3 separate regions of the Homo sapiens genome follow, and all the other regions are linked to region 1. The links are contacts of gene promoters, found by promoter capture Hi-C in human tissues and cell types (Jung and others, 2019). All regions are on one chromosome and are shown on one strand. Each heading gives the region's core, a stretch centred on a gene start or on the middle of the fragment in contact. The rest is flanking DNA. Distances are from core to core; before and after follow the strand shown.

The links. Contacts are between HindIII fragments. The study calls those that stand out against the background at their distance.
Region 2: a contact is called between a fragment that was not itself captured here and the fragment with the promoter of NTPCR in region 1, in 1 of the 25 tissues and cell types used here (small bowel).
Region 3: a fragment that was not itself captured here is called in contact with the fragment with the promoter of NTPCR in region 1 in 1 of the 25 tissues and cell types used here (H1 embryonic stem cells).

The regions. Positions count from the first base shown.
Region 1 is chr1:232,947,965-232,951,952 of GRCh38, forward strand. NTPCR (nucleoside-triphosphatase, cancer-related) reads left to right here and starts at 2,647. Exons shown (of 5, transcript NM_032324.3): 1 at 2,647-2,780. The coding sequence starts at 2,747. LOC107985361 (a long non-coding RNA gene) reads right to left here and starts at 3,585. Exons shown (of 2, transcript XR_001738525.2): 1 at 3,364-3,585; 2 at 256-3,192. RefSeq lists enhancers at 2,369-2,468, 2,381-2,922, 2,923-3,462. The HindIII fragment of the contact is 11,474 bases long and covers 1-3,988 here.
Region 2 is chr1:232,668,458-232,672,205 of GRCh38, forward strand. No RefSeq gene overlaps it. Among named protein-coding and RNA genes, the nearest start is that of SIPA1L2, 40 kb to the left of the region's middle. The HindIII fragment of the contact is 7,975 bases long and covers 1-3,748 here.
Region 3 is chr1:232,586,091-232,589,656 of GRCh38, forward strand. All of the region lies in intron 1 of SIPA1L2 (signal induced proliferation associated 1 like 2), which reads right to left. Among named protein-coding and RNA genes, the nearest start is that of SIPA1L2, 42 kb to the right of the region's middle. The HindIII fragment of the contact is 5,763 bases long and covers 1-3,566 here.

The DNA.
Region 1 (3,988 bases), core at 1,397-3,896:
AGGACAGTTCTGGGAAAAGGGTAGATATGAAAACAAAATAAACAGTGTTTTTTGGACTTTAGGGTATTTTATAATTGTAGAGACTGTAGAGTTGTACCTACAAACTGTTTTAATAAAGAACTGTACTGCATCCTGTCATAAGTGAGGCTGCACCCAGGTGTTGCAGAAGAAATCTTTGGAATCACCTGTTCCTTAGGTAATTAATTCTACCTTGTGTGTTAGCTCAGGCTACTATAATAGAGTACCACAGATGAGTGGCTTAAACAAAAAAACATTTATTTCTTACAACTCTGGAGGCTGAAGTTTAAGATCAGGGTGCCAACACGACTGGGTTCTTGGGGAAGGCCCTCATCTTGGTTGACAGAGAGCAGTCTTCTCCTCGTATCTTCACATGGCAGAGAGCAGAGAGATAGAAAGCAAGTTTTCTCCCGCCTTTTTCTAAGGGTACTAATCACATTCATGAGGACTCCACTCTAGTGACCTGATTACCTAATTGCTTCTTTAAGGCCCCACACTTTAATACCTTCACCTTGTGGGTTAGGATTTCAACAATATGAATTTTGGGGGGACACAAACATCCGTCCATTGGATGTTGATTAGATAGGAAGCAAAAGTTGGATTCAGTATGGTACAGTACTTTAAGATCCCATTTATTTTAAAATTTGTTTCAATTTATGCCATCTTCTTTTGTTGTTAATCTCTAAGAGATATAAGCTATTTAATTTTTTGTTATTGTTACCTAATAACACATACAGGAAACTGTAGAAATTAAGCATCAAATCAATGAATTTTCTAACAAGAAGATATCCGTGGAACTACCATCCAAATAATTCATTTTCCATGGATAAAGTACATTCAACTATGGAGTCTTTTTTTCTGTTTTGTGAGACGTTGATTCACCATATCTGAATTCCATGTATCTTTGAGCTACTTAAACTGATGCCAGAATTCCAGGCACAGCAACAAAACAAAAGAACCCAACTTCCGGTGAGCCTTGCAAATCCAAACTGCTTTTCAGTGATGGAAAATGCTATCTGATTAACATTTAAAACGAGTACTTTTGATACAAGAGATACATATACTTTTTTCCTTTTTTTTGGAAGCTCCTCCTATGAATTTACTTTACTATATCAACTTTTCACTGTATTCAACATATATGGACTGCAAAATAAATCAAGGTGGAAGGCCCTACATTAACAGTTGGGATAATAAATAGTATACTGTTATAATAATAGAGCATTACAAATGTTGCAGAAATGATGGTGATGACAGCTATATTTTACAAATCCAACTTTGTTTTTTTAGATAATCATTGGACTGGCATATGTCTCAGGCTAAAGGGAAACCAAGAGGTCCATGTGTGGGCAGAAACCAATTAAGTTGAGCACTCACTGAACTGCTTTCTCAGCCAGGATGGGGAACGACTGACTACAAATTAAGCTGTACACATGTTAGACTGAAAGAGTTTACAGGTAAATGTGGCCCAAGGCCACTGCCACGTCATTCGTTGGCCGGAACACTTGCAGTGGTAAAGTGAGACGGAGAAGCTATTTAATTCTTTGCAAGAGGAGATCTTTATACACTTTGGTGTGAAAGTAAAGAGGGAAAACTGGGCGTCCTATGCATGGCTGAGGACGGGAAGCCTGCCTACACCAGTGGTTCTCAACCCTAGCGCACTTCAGGAACTTCCTGGAGTTTAGAAAGAAGAAAAAAGAATACAGGTGCTCAAGACTCGCTCAAGACCAATTACTCATGTTAAACAAGATTTATGGGAGGCCATTGTTTTGGACTAACCTCCTGCACTAGGTCCTAGCAGACTAGACCAAACCAGAATGGAGTCACTTGTGCCAAGTGCCATGTAACCAAACTGAACTTTGAAACAGGCCCGTTTTCCCAAAAAACAGGAGATTGTAGTTAACCTGAGTCAGTACAATAACGAAGTCCAATCTGTTTTAACCCTATAAGGAAAGTAACTTTGAAATACCCACTCTTTGTTTTGTTCTTCAGCCTTTTTTTGCCCATAAAGCCAACCTCCTCTGCACAACTCATTGGAACACTCTATTTGCTTTATGAAATGATCTATTTCTCGATTCTAGATCCTAAATATAAGCCAATTAGATCTTTAAACTAAACTTGTAATTTTGTCTTCTGACACTCCCTATTACTGCAGGTGAAACCCAGGCATCAGAGCAAGTTTAAAACTCCCCAGCTGATTCTATTCTGCAGGAATGTTTGAGAACAAAGTTGGAGTCATTAACATGGCATCCCCCTTTGAGGAATGCTTCCAGGTCACAAACCTTCTACAAAAGGGCTGTCCCGGCAGCCTTGGGCAATTTCAGCTCCTAGGTCCGGAGTCAAGGGGCAGAACTTGGGTGATGGCGCTGACTTGAAGCAGCAATAGTTTAATAACTGACGTTCTCACGCACTTATCTCTGCAAATACCCCACAAAAGCCCTGAACCCAGAATGAAACTTAAGAGACCGTACAACCCGCTCCGCCTATAGGAACTGCCGCGGCACAGGCGCCAATGCCGAGGGCTGAATGCGCAGGCGCGGACCGGGGACTCGGGAGAAGGCGCATGCGTGGTCTTGAGGGCGGTGCTTCCGGTCAAAGCACCGCTTGGGGGCGGGGCCTGCGACACGCGGTGGGCGGGTCCTGAGTCGCGACCCTGGTCCGGACCTGACCTGAATTGCGACCCCAACCTGGACTGCTCCCCTGACCGCAACCCCTACCCCCGCCCACCAGTATGGCCCGGCACGTGTTCCTAACGGGGCCCCCAGGTAACCCTGAGGGGATCCCCACCTCCAAGAGGTCGAGGGGGTGGGGGCGCGCGGGCTGCGGGCGACCTTGTGCTGTCGGGGAGGGTCTCCGGCTCCAGGGCTCCGGCCTCTGAAGTTCCCAATTTAAATGGCGGGCTTGGTAGTCTGAAGAGTTTGTACTCCTTCCCGGAAAACGTGATTTAAAAGACACAGGGCCTAAAGGATTAGAACACACTTGTGAGGGGGTCCTAGACTGGCTTCTTGATGAAGGGCAGAAACCGCAGGGGCCAGCGGCAGCGGTAACTCCTACTGTAGTGTTGACGTTGTGGTCTGCACAAATGGTATTTCAAGAGATCTGCGGCAACCGCGATGTGAAGTGGAGATGTCTAATTTCTGTTGATAGTCACAGGTATTTCCTTACTGTGGGTCTTTGCTACATTGATCGTGCAAAAAAAAAATGGTAAATTTTAGTTGGAGGACAGCGAAACTGAAGTTGTAACCTTTCTTTCCCATCTAAGTTCATCCCCCCACCCCCATCCCCATCTCCATCCCCACGAATTCCCTCCACAGCTGAGGCCAGAGGTGGAGAAGCTTTGGTACCTACAGGAGCCCTTCTCAGACACTCTTGCTTGTTCCTGTCGCTGTCCCCTCCTGATGTCTGTCAGATCCCTCAACCCTGTGGCCTGTGGAGTTCTCATCTGAGAAGCAGGATAGCGTTGAGGTCAGATGAGAGGTGTAGGAGGAGGTGCTTTTAAACCAAGGCGCTACCCATGTATCAAGCATTACTAAAAAGGACAGGTAGGCTGCATCAGATAGGCTAAAAAAAGATAGATGGGCTAAGAGTGGAGAAAGTGATTTCTTCAGCTCCTTTGCAAGGCAAATCTAATTTTGAAGTTTAGTGTGGGTTCAGATATCAAAGGCTGTAACCCTGGATCTAGAATTCTCTTTCACTTTATTTTAATGATTATGTTTAGTTGTAAGTAGCAAAGGCTACAGCTAATATTGCAGACTTTGGGATTTTGTCAGGCATTGGATGGGGGAGTTGGGGAGCAGGGGGTGAGGAGGAGGAGGGTGGTTTGAGAAATGCCTGCTATCTAAAGTCACTCCTAAGTATTGCAAAGAACTGTTTTCTGAAAGTTGGTTTGTCAATCCTTTATTTGAAACTTGGAATGCAGTTTGATACTCAGCAGGCTGACCCCAAGACAACTGTGTGTTTTATTAATGGAGGT
Region 2 (3,748 bases), core at 469-2,968, 280 kb before region 1:
ATAAAATGTAAAACACATAGCACTTTTTCAAGTCAAACCATATGAAACTGCCCGCTTGTAGCTCTTCTAGATTCTCTGTTTAGGTAGATTTACTCCATCCTTCATTTGTGATTCGGAGATGGGCAAATCAGCTGGGTGTAACTACCTCTTGGCCTAGACCTAAACAAAAAAAGTTTTTTGTTGTTGTTAATGTTTTTTTAAAGACTATCTGCTATCACCAATTTAAGCCCAGAGAAATAGGAACAGAATGGAAAATTATTCTGCACAACTATATGTGAGTTAATGTGATACACTGAAATAGAAAATATTCAACATGTATTTTCATTTATTCTTCCAACAAATATTCAATGAATGGCCTATTATAGATGGAAATGGTTCTAGGTGTTGGGGACACAGAGTTTACATTCTATTTGGGGAAATGGATAATAAGAATAATAATTAAGTAAACTATATAGAAGTTAAAAGGAGATTCAGTCTATAAAATAGCACCAGGAAGGCACGAGGAGAACTGAATGGATGAATATTAAATATGTTATTAACTTGCAAATATTTCTGAGCTTTATGAAGGAGGTTACATCAATGAGACAATAGCAATGAGAATAATAAAGATTCAATATAAAATCCTGGCAGGATTTTATATTGAAGGATTTTATATCCCTTTTAGGTGGGGAGCTTTACTTGGTTGTTGTGAATCTTAAACCATGCTGGATAAGCTGCTCTTTGGACTAAGATATGACCCTTCTTCAGAAAAGAAATGGAATTGACTATAATATGGAAGTAAAATTAACAGAAGAATTCCCATCCAGAGCTATATTTTGAACAATATTCTTTCCCAGGGAAACCAGTGCTGTGAGGGGCTTGCTCTAATAGTCTTACATTTCCAGACATCATGGTCTAATTCTGAGTTCTATGTGTTCTGAAATGATTGCCCTATAAAATGCTATAGAGAGAAAACCTATTTCTGATATTAGTTAAGTCTTTGTAGAAATGTTTCAAGTTTCTCTTTGATATTAGTGGGAACAGAAATTAATACAATGAAACGGTCTATCAAAATACCAGAATAGGTTGTTCGAGAGTAGCAGTTGCTAAAGAAATTTGAAGTGTGTAGAAAAAAAGGAACTATATGAATCAAAGTAAGTTTTTTTATTACTAGGTATTTCAGTATTTATCCTCAGCAAATGACCTTGTTTCCTACTTCATATAGGAAATAAGGGAAGAATGAAAGCATGGAATACTTCAGTTCCTACCTCCAAGTCTCTTGCCCCCAAATGTAACCATATTCATAAAAAATGTGCCTATATTCATCATTCATTTCATTCCTACTTTTTCCCTCACATTTGAATATATACTCTCCCTTTCTTTCAAAATGAATGGCTTAGTCCAAATGGCAGGTCATCCACCGCAGGCTGGTATACACACCCACAAAATAAAAACCCCAACCTGAGGGCTACCCTGCCAAGATTTCACATTGAGTCTTTATTATTCTTGTTACTACTTTCTGATTGATATAACGTCTTTTGTAAAGCTCAGGAATACTTGCAAGTTACCAATATATTTAACATTCAGCTCACCCAATGCCTTAACTGTGCTGTTTTTATAGACTTACCACCTGGATTCTGTGCTTTTCAACTACTCAGGAATTATTTCTTCCAATCTTTTATCCGTTTCCCTTTTCTCTCCTCTTTCCTTTCTCCTCTCTTTTTCTGCCTTTTCACTTTCTACTATTGAATTTTTTTTTTCTGCATACGAACATGCTTTAGTCTTCCCCCGCTTAAAAGCAATCAAAAAAGAACAAAATACCATCATCAATAACAGTAACAACTCTCGCAGCTTAACATCTGCCGCCGGGTACTCCCCTCTTTTCAATCCTTTCTCCTCAAGCTCAGCGGGTAGGTCTTTGGTGCTGTCTCCACTATCTCAATGCCCTGTCCATTCTCAGCACAACACAATCTGACATCTGGCTGTTGCTCTTTTATTATTGAGACTTTTTTCAATCAGCTCAGTGATGACCTCCTAGCTATGAAAGGCAAGGATATTCTTGAGTACTTACATTAGCTGGCCTTTAGTAACATGAGACAGGTGACCTCATCCTGCAGCAATTAGATGCGTATTTTCTGCCCGTGTACGGGAAGTGCAAGGATACATAGGAACGTCCATGTGGTTTCCCTTTAAAAGTATGACTTCCCTTGGCTTCTGAGAGACCACTCACTCTTGATTTTTTTTTCTACCTCCCAGACTTCCCTATCTCACCATCTTTGCTGGTTTCTCTCTTACCTTCCTATAAAGGTTAGTTTTTTCCTAGAATTCCATAATTAACTCTTGTTTTCATTCCATTTCCTCCCTGCAGTCATGCCCTGTTTCATTGGCATGAAATCAGCACAATTGCAAAGGCCCCATGTTTTGAAGGTCCCCAGCCTTAAACTGATGTTCTGCTTTCCCATTTTGAAATGTCTAATTTTTGGACAAGGACTCCAGGCCTTTTCATTGTTCACTGGACTTCACAAATTATGTAGCCTGTCCAGCCCCAGGTGGTCTCGTCTACAACTAAGAATTCCATTATCACCTGTGACTGATTAACTTCCTAGGTGCTACACCTGGTATGGAATAAGAACCTTTTCCTCCGAGAAACATATCCAAAAAAGTCTAACTTCTTGTCGACCCTGGTACACAGGGTTTTATTTATTCTGGGCTTCTGATTTTCTACCCCAAATGTCTTTACTCTTTTTTCTTCAGGTAAAGTCACAATTTTCCTCAGGAAGCAGTCCTGGGTCCGCTTCAGCAAATGAATAAGAGCTTGATTGTGTCCCTCAGGTGCTACAGTGTAAAGCAAGGCTCAGATGACGTTGGCTTGGAAAAGGTTCAAAATAAGTTGTACTAATCTGTCCCCACCAGGGCTATGGGAAAATCTTTAAATTGCATCTGTGAAATGTCTGTTGAGCAAAATGGCCTCCTTGTGAATCCATCAGCATGGATTAGCTGCAAAATATGCCATGGAACCAAAAACGACTGTGATGGTTACCAGAGACTGGGAAGGGTAGTGGGGGTGGGCGGGTGGTTAATGAGTACAAAAAAAAATTAGAAAGAATGAATAAGCTCTAGTACTTGATAGCACAACAGGGTGACCACAGTCAACAATAATTTATTGTACATTTAAAAATAACTAACAGTATAATTGGATTGTTTGTAATGAAAGAAAGGATAAGTGCTTGAGGTGATGGACACCCCATTTACCCTGATGTGATTATTACACCTTGCATGCCTATATCAGAATAGCTCATGTACCCTATACATATATACACCTACTATGTACCCACAAAAATTAAAGAATAAAATGAATGACCTTCTCAAAATCTCTCCCAAATAATAAATGATCTTTTCACAGAATGGTTATTTCCAAGCCATCTTTATGACAACGTGACTTACCAGAATCTAATGTCTTTCAAAATAGCTTCTGCCTAACCTGAGCATAGAGGATACTGCTCCATCTCTCCATGGCAGAGGCATGTGTCTAGTTCATCTGAGGGTGATTTTCTGTTATTAAAAAGGACGTGAAGTGGAAGGAGCAGGGCACAGCCTTGTCTTATGCCACCGATGATGATAAGCTTGTTCTTGCCTGTCCCAACTTTTGAAATGGTATTAAGATTCAGAATGTGGATTACCATGAAAAAATTATACCCCTTTCTTGGTATCAGAGCCAAAGAGCAATAACAAATCATTAAAAATTACATCACCAGGTCAGGGGTTTGAG
Region 3 (3,566 bases), core at 343-2,842, 360 kb before region 1:
TCATGAAAGCAAAGCACAAGACTCGGTTTCTCCTTGAGACCCTGTTTGTTAGCTCTGTCTCCGCACAGCGATACAGTTTGCACAGGGGATTCTGCCACAGTTCTGCCACCTGTACTCTGATATTTTCTCAGTGATCATGTGGGTCCTCTCTCTGTGTCCAGAGGAGTCAATTAAAAAGACATTCATAAATTGAATGTCTAGGTTTCACACATCCACATCCTCAGAAGCAGGTGTCCACTACAATGTATTTATTAATATTTTATCAGATGTCATTTTATCTAGACAAGTTCATCATCGCCACAGTTATTACCAGGGAGTCCTACTGCAAAGGGCAATTGAAGAGCACCTGGCTTCCTCCCAAAAGGCTCCAAAGACCGAACGACTCCAACCTGAGTGTTCGAGATTCACAGGAAGAGCTCGTCACGTAATCACACAAATCAGAAAACTGAAGAGAAAAATAAAATGGGTCAAAATATCAACTCACACAAAAACAGCTACTCTAAATGACTTAAAATTTCTTTTAATGAAGAATTTTTAAAAAGCTTCTATAGAAATAACAAGATATTCTTCTAGGCATGAAAGCTTTCTCTTCTAGAGCCACCCAAGAAAAACACACTTGTGATTCTTCATACACAGAAAACAAGCAAACATCATCACTACCTAGTTACAATGCGAAACTGCTGGGAAAACAGGAGTGAAACAGGAGTCTTTGTCACAAACAGCATCAATTACATAACCAATGTGATGCTGTCCCTTCATACTGGGCACATTCCCAATCAGGGGAAAGAACACTGGTTGGCTTTTTAAGTGAATAATGATAAAGACTGCGTCTATTATTTTTGGAGTATGTCTACACAGCTGGTGTCATGGGCCTTGATGGTAATAGGAAACAGACATACAAGGGTAGGGAGACTGAGGATGACGGTATCACAGGAAGGTGGGATGGGAGGGGCTGTGCAGCTATATTTCACAACTTTATTACTTTTATACTACAAAAAGATTACCTTGACTAATCTTTATTATGAACACAAAACCCATTTGACTTTTTAAAAACTAATGAATTTATGCAGCCATTACACTTGCCCTAATTATTCAAACTGCTACATAAAGTATGAACTGATACACCAGGTACAGATTTAGATGTTCAGGACACAGGAGTCAACAGCCCCAGTCAAAGTGCCACACTCCAGGAACTCTCTTACACATCCCTCCCACATGGCCCCACACGTCTATCACCACACGTATGAGGTATCTGACCCATTTCTGTAATACTAAGTTCATAACGAGTCAAGTCTAGTTCTGTCTCATTTAGCACCTTTCCTGTATGTCTTAAAGTCGTGGTTCTCAAAAAGTATGAACCACGGGCCCCTTAGGATCCCCAAGGCTCTTCAACTGGATCTGTGAGGTCAAACTAGAATTCTAAAGCTGTTATTTGCCTTTTTGTACAGCATCAACAGTACAAGAGCAACAGCATGTAAAAATGTGTGTACCTTACTACACAGCAAGGCAGTGGCCCCACACTGTACTTACTAGCTGTCATCTTACCACATAACTGCAGTTAAAATAAATGAAGAGATCAGTCACCTCACTTATTGTCCTTGATGGATGATATGATTTGGCTGTGTCCCCACCCAAATCTCATCTCGAACTGTAGCTCCCATAATTCCCTCGTGTTGTGGGAGGGACCCAGTGCGAGATAACTAAACCATGGTGGCGGTTTCCCCCATACTGTTCTTGTGGCAGTGAATAAGTCTCACAAGATCTGATGGTTTTAGAAGGGGAAATCCCTTCCACTTGGCTCTCACTCTTCTCTTATCTGCCGCCATGTGAGACGTGCCTTTCACCTTCCACCATGATTGTGAGGCCTCCCCAGCCATGTGGTACTGTGGGTCCATTAAACCTCTTTCTTTTGTAAACTGCCCAGTCTCGGGTATGTCTTTATCAGCAGCAGGAAAACGGACTAATACAATGGAGAAGTAAAAAACTGATTTTATTACGCCTTGACTCTTGAGCACACACACACTATGACTCTGTGTGAAGGAAGGGAAAGCCCTGTTGCAGCATATACTGGTGGCTGTCGCAAGGGTCAGCACCTGTGGGGTGGACCTATGAGGTGATGAGCCACTTTTCTTCATTGAACCCAACCTTGTACTTGACAGAGCGATATATAAACAATGGTTATTCCGACAAGGCTATCTGGCAGGCATTTTAAAGAAAAGAAACAAAACAGGCCCATTTTCGAGGAAAACAGTAAGATTAAGCTTTTATGAAAATTTTAGACTTTCTTAAAACTTGAATAACCACTGTGATCTTGACAATTTCCCTACACTTAAGAATTTTCTGATTCATGACAAGAATTTTTGATATTACAAGTGAAATATATAAACATTTGGGAGATTTTTCTAAGTGGCCAATGCATGATATTCAAAATAATACCTAAAACAGAGTTTTTAAAGTTCATAGATAGGGTTTCAGGATCTACATACATCTCGACCAAACTTTGAGATACCACTTCTCTAGTGTTATATCAAAGAAGATCCACTATTATCTGAAAGGAAATTCAAGCACTCCCTTTTCCAACTACAAACCTGTGTGAGGCTAGGTTTTCTTTGGTTGGATGGCAACCACAGCTACATATCACAACAGATTGAATGCAGATGCAAGGCAAGAAAACAGCTGTCTTCTAATAAGCCAGATATTAAAGATATTCGCAAAAAATAACGAAGCATACTTCTCAATAAGTGTCTTAGTTTTGGAAAATAGTTATTTTTCACGAAAGTATTATTTATGTTAACATACAGGTGGTTATATTGTTATTTTAAATTCAATAATGATTTCTAAAATCCCTTTTTTATTTCTGATATGGTAGATTATGTGATTGATAGAACTCACATAAACAAAAACTCTTTGGAGTCCTCAATTATTTTCCAGAGTGTAAAAAAAAGGCATGAGACTAAAATAATTGAGAAGCACTATCTGAAAGAAACATTTAGGTGGCAGTTCCCTCAAGGAAACACAGGGGCACGTTTATGGAAAAGAATTTGAGACATAAAGCAGGTGAGCTAAAATTTCCTCACCATCGGGTGACAAAACGCAGTTTCATTTCAATTCATTAAGCCAAATACGTATTCACTGAGGTTTCTCTTTAGGGTCAGACAATGATTAAACTATTTAAACATTTGGATCTCCATTAATCTTCCATCAATTTCCCAAATGACTAGTCTTGTGTAACACTACGGTAACACAGTATGTAAATTCACCCAGTTAGCTCACTGGTACTTGTATACTCTCCCAAATCCACTAACATTCACTACATTGTCTTTTGCCACCATTGGCTGAGAGGCTTCTCACTGAATTATTGATTTTCTGCCAATTAATTACCATAGTTAAGATTCAGTTGAGCTTCTCTTCGCAGAAATTCTTTTTTCCAATCTCACTTCTCTTGTACCCTTTGGAGTCTGTTGGGGAATCAAAATAATTGGTAACCTAAGGATAAGATACTGAGTTCTAAAAATATCCTTGGCATAACTTACAAATAACTCAGTTGTCAGACACTTAAATGGGCA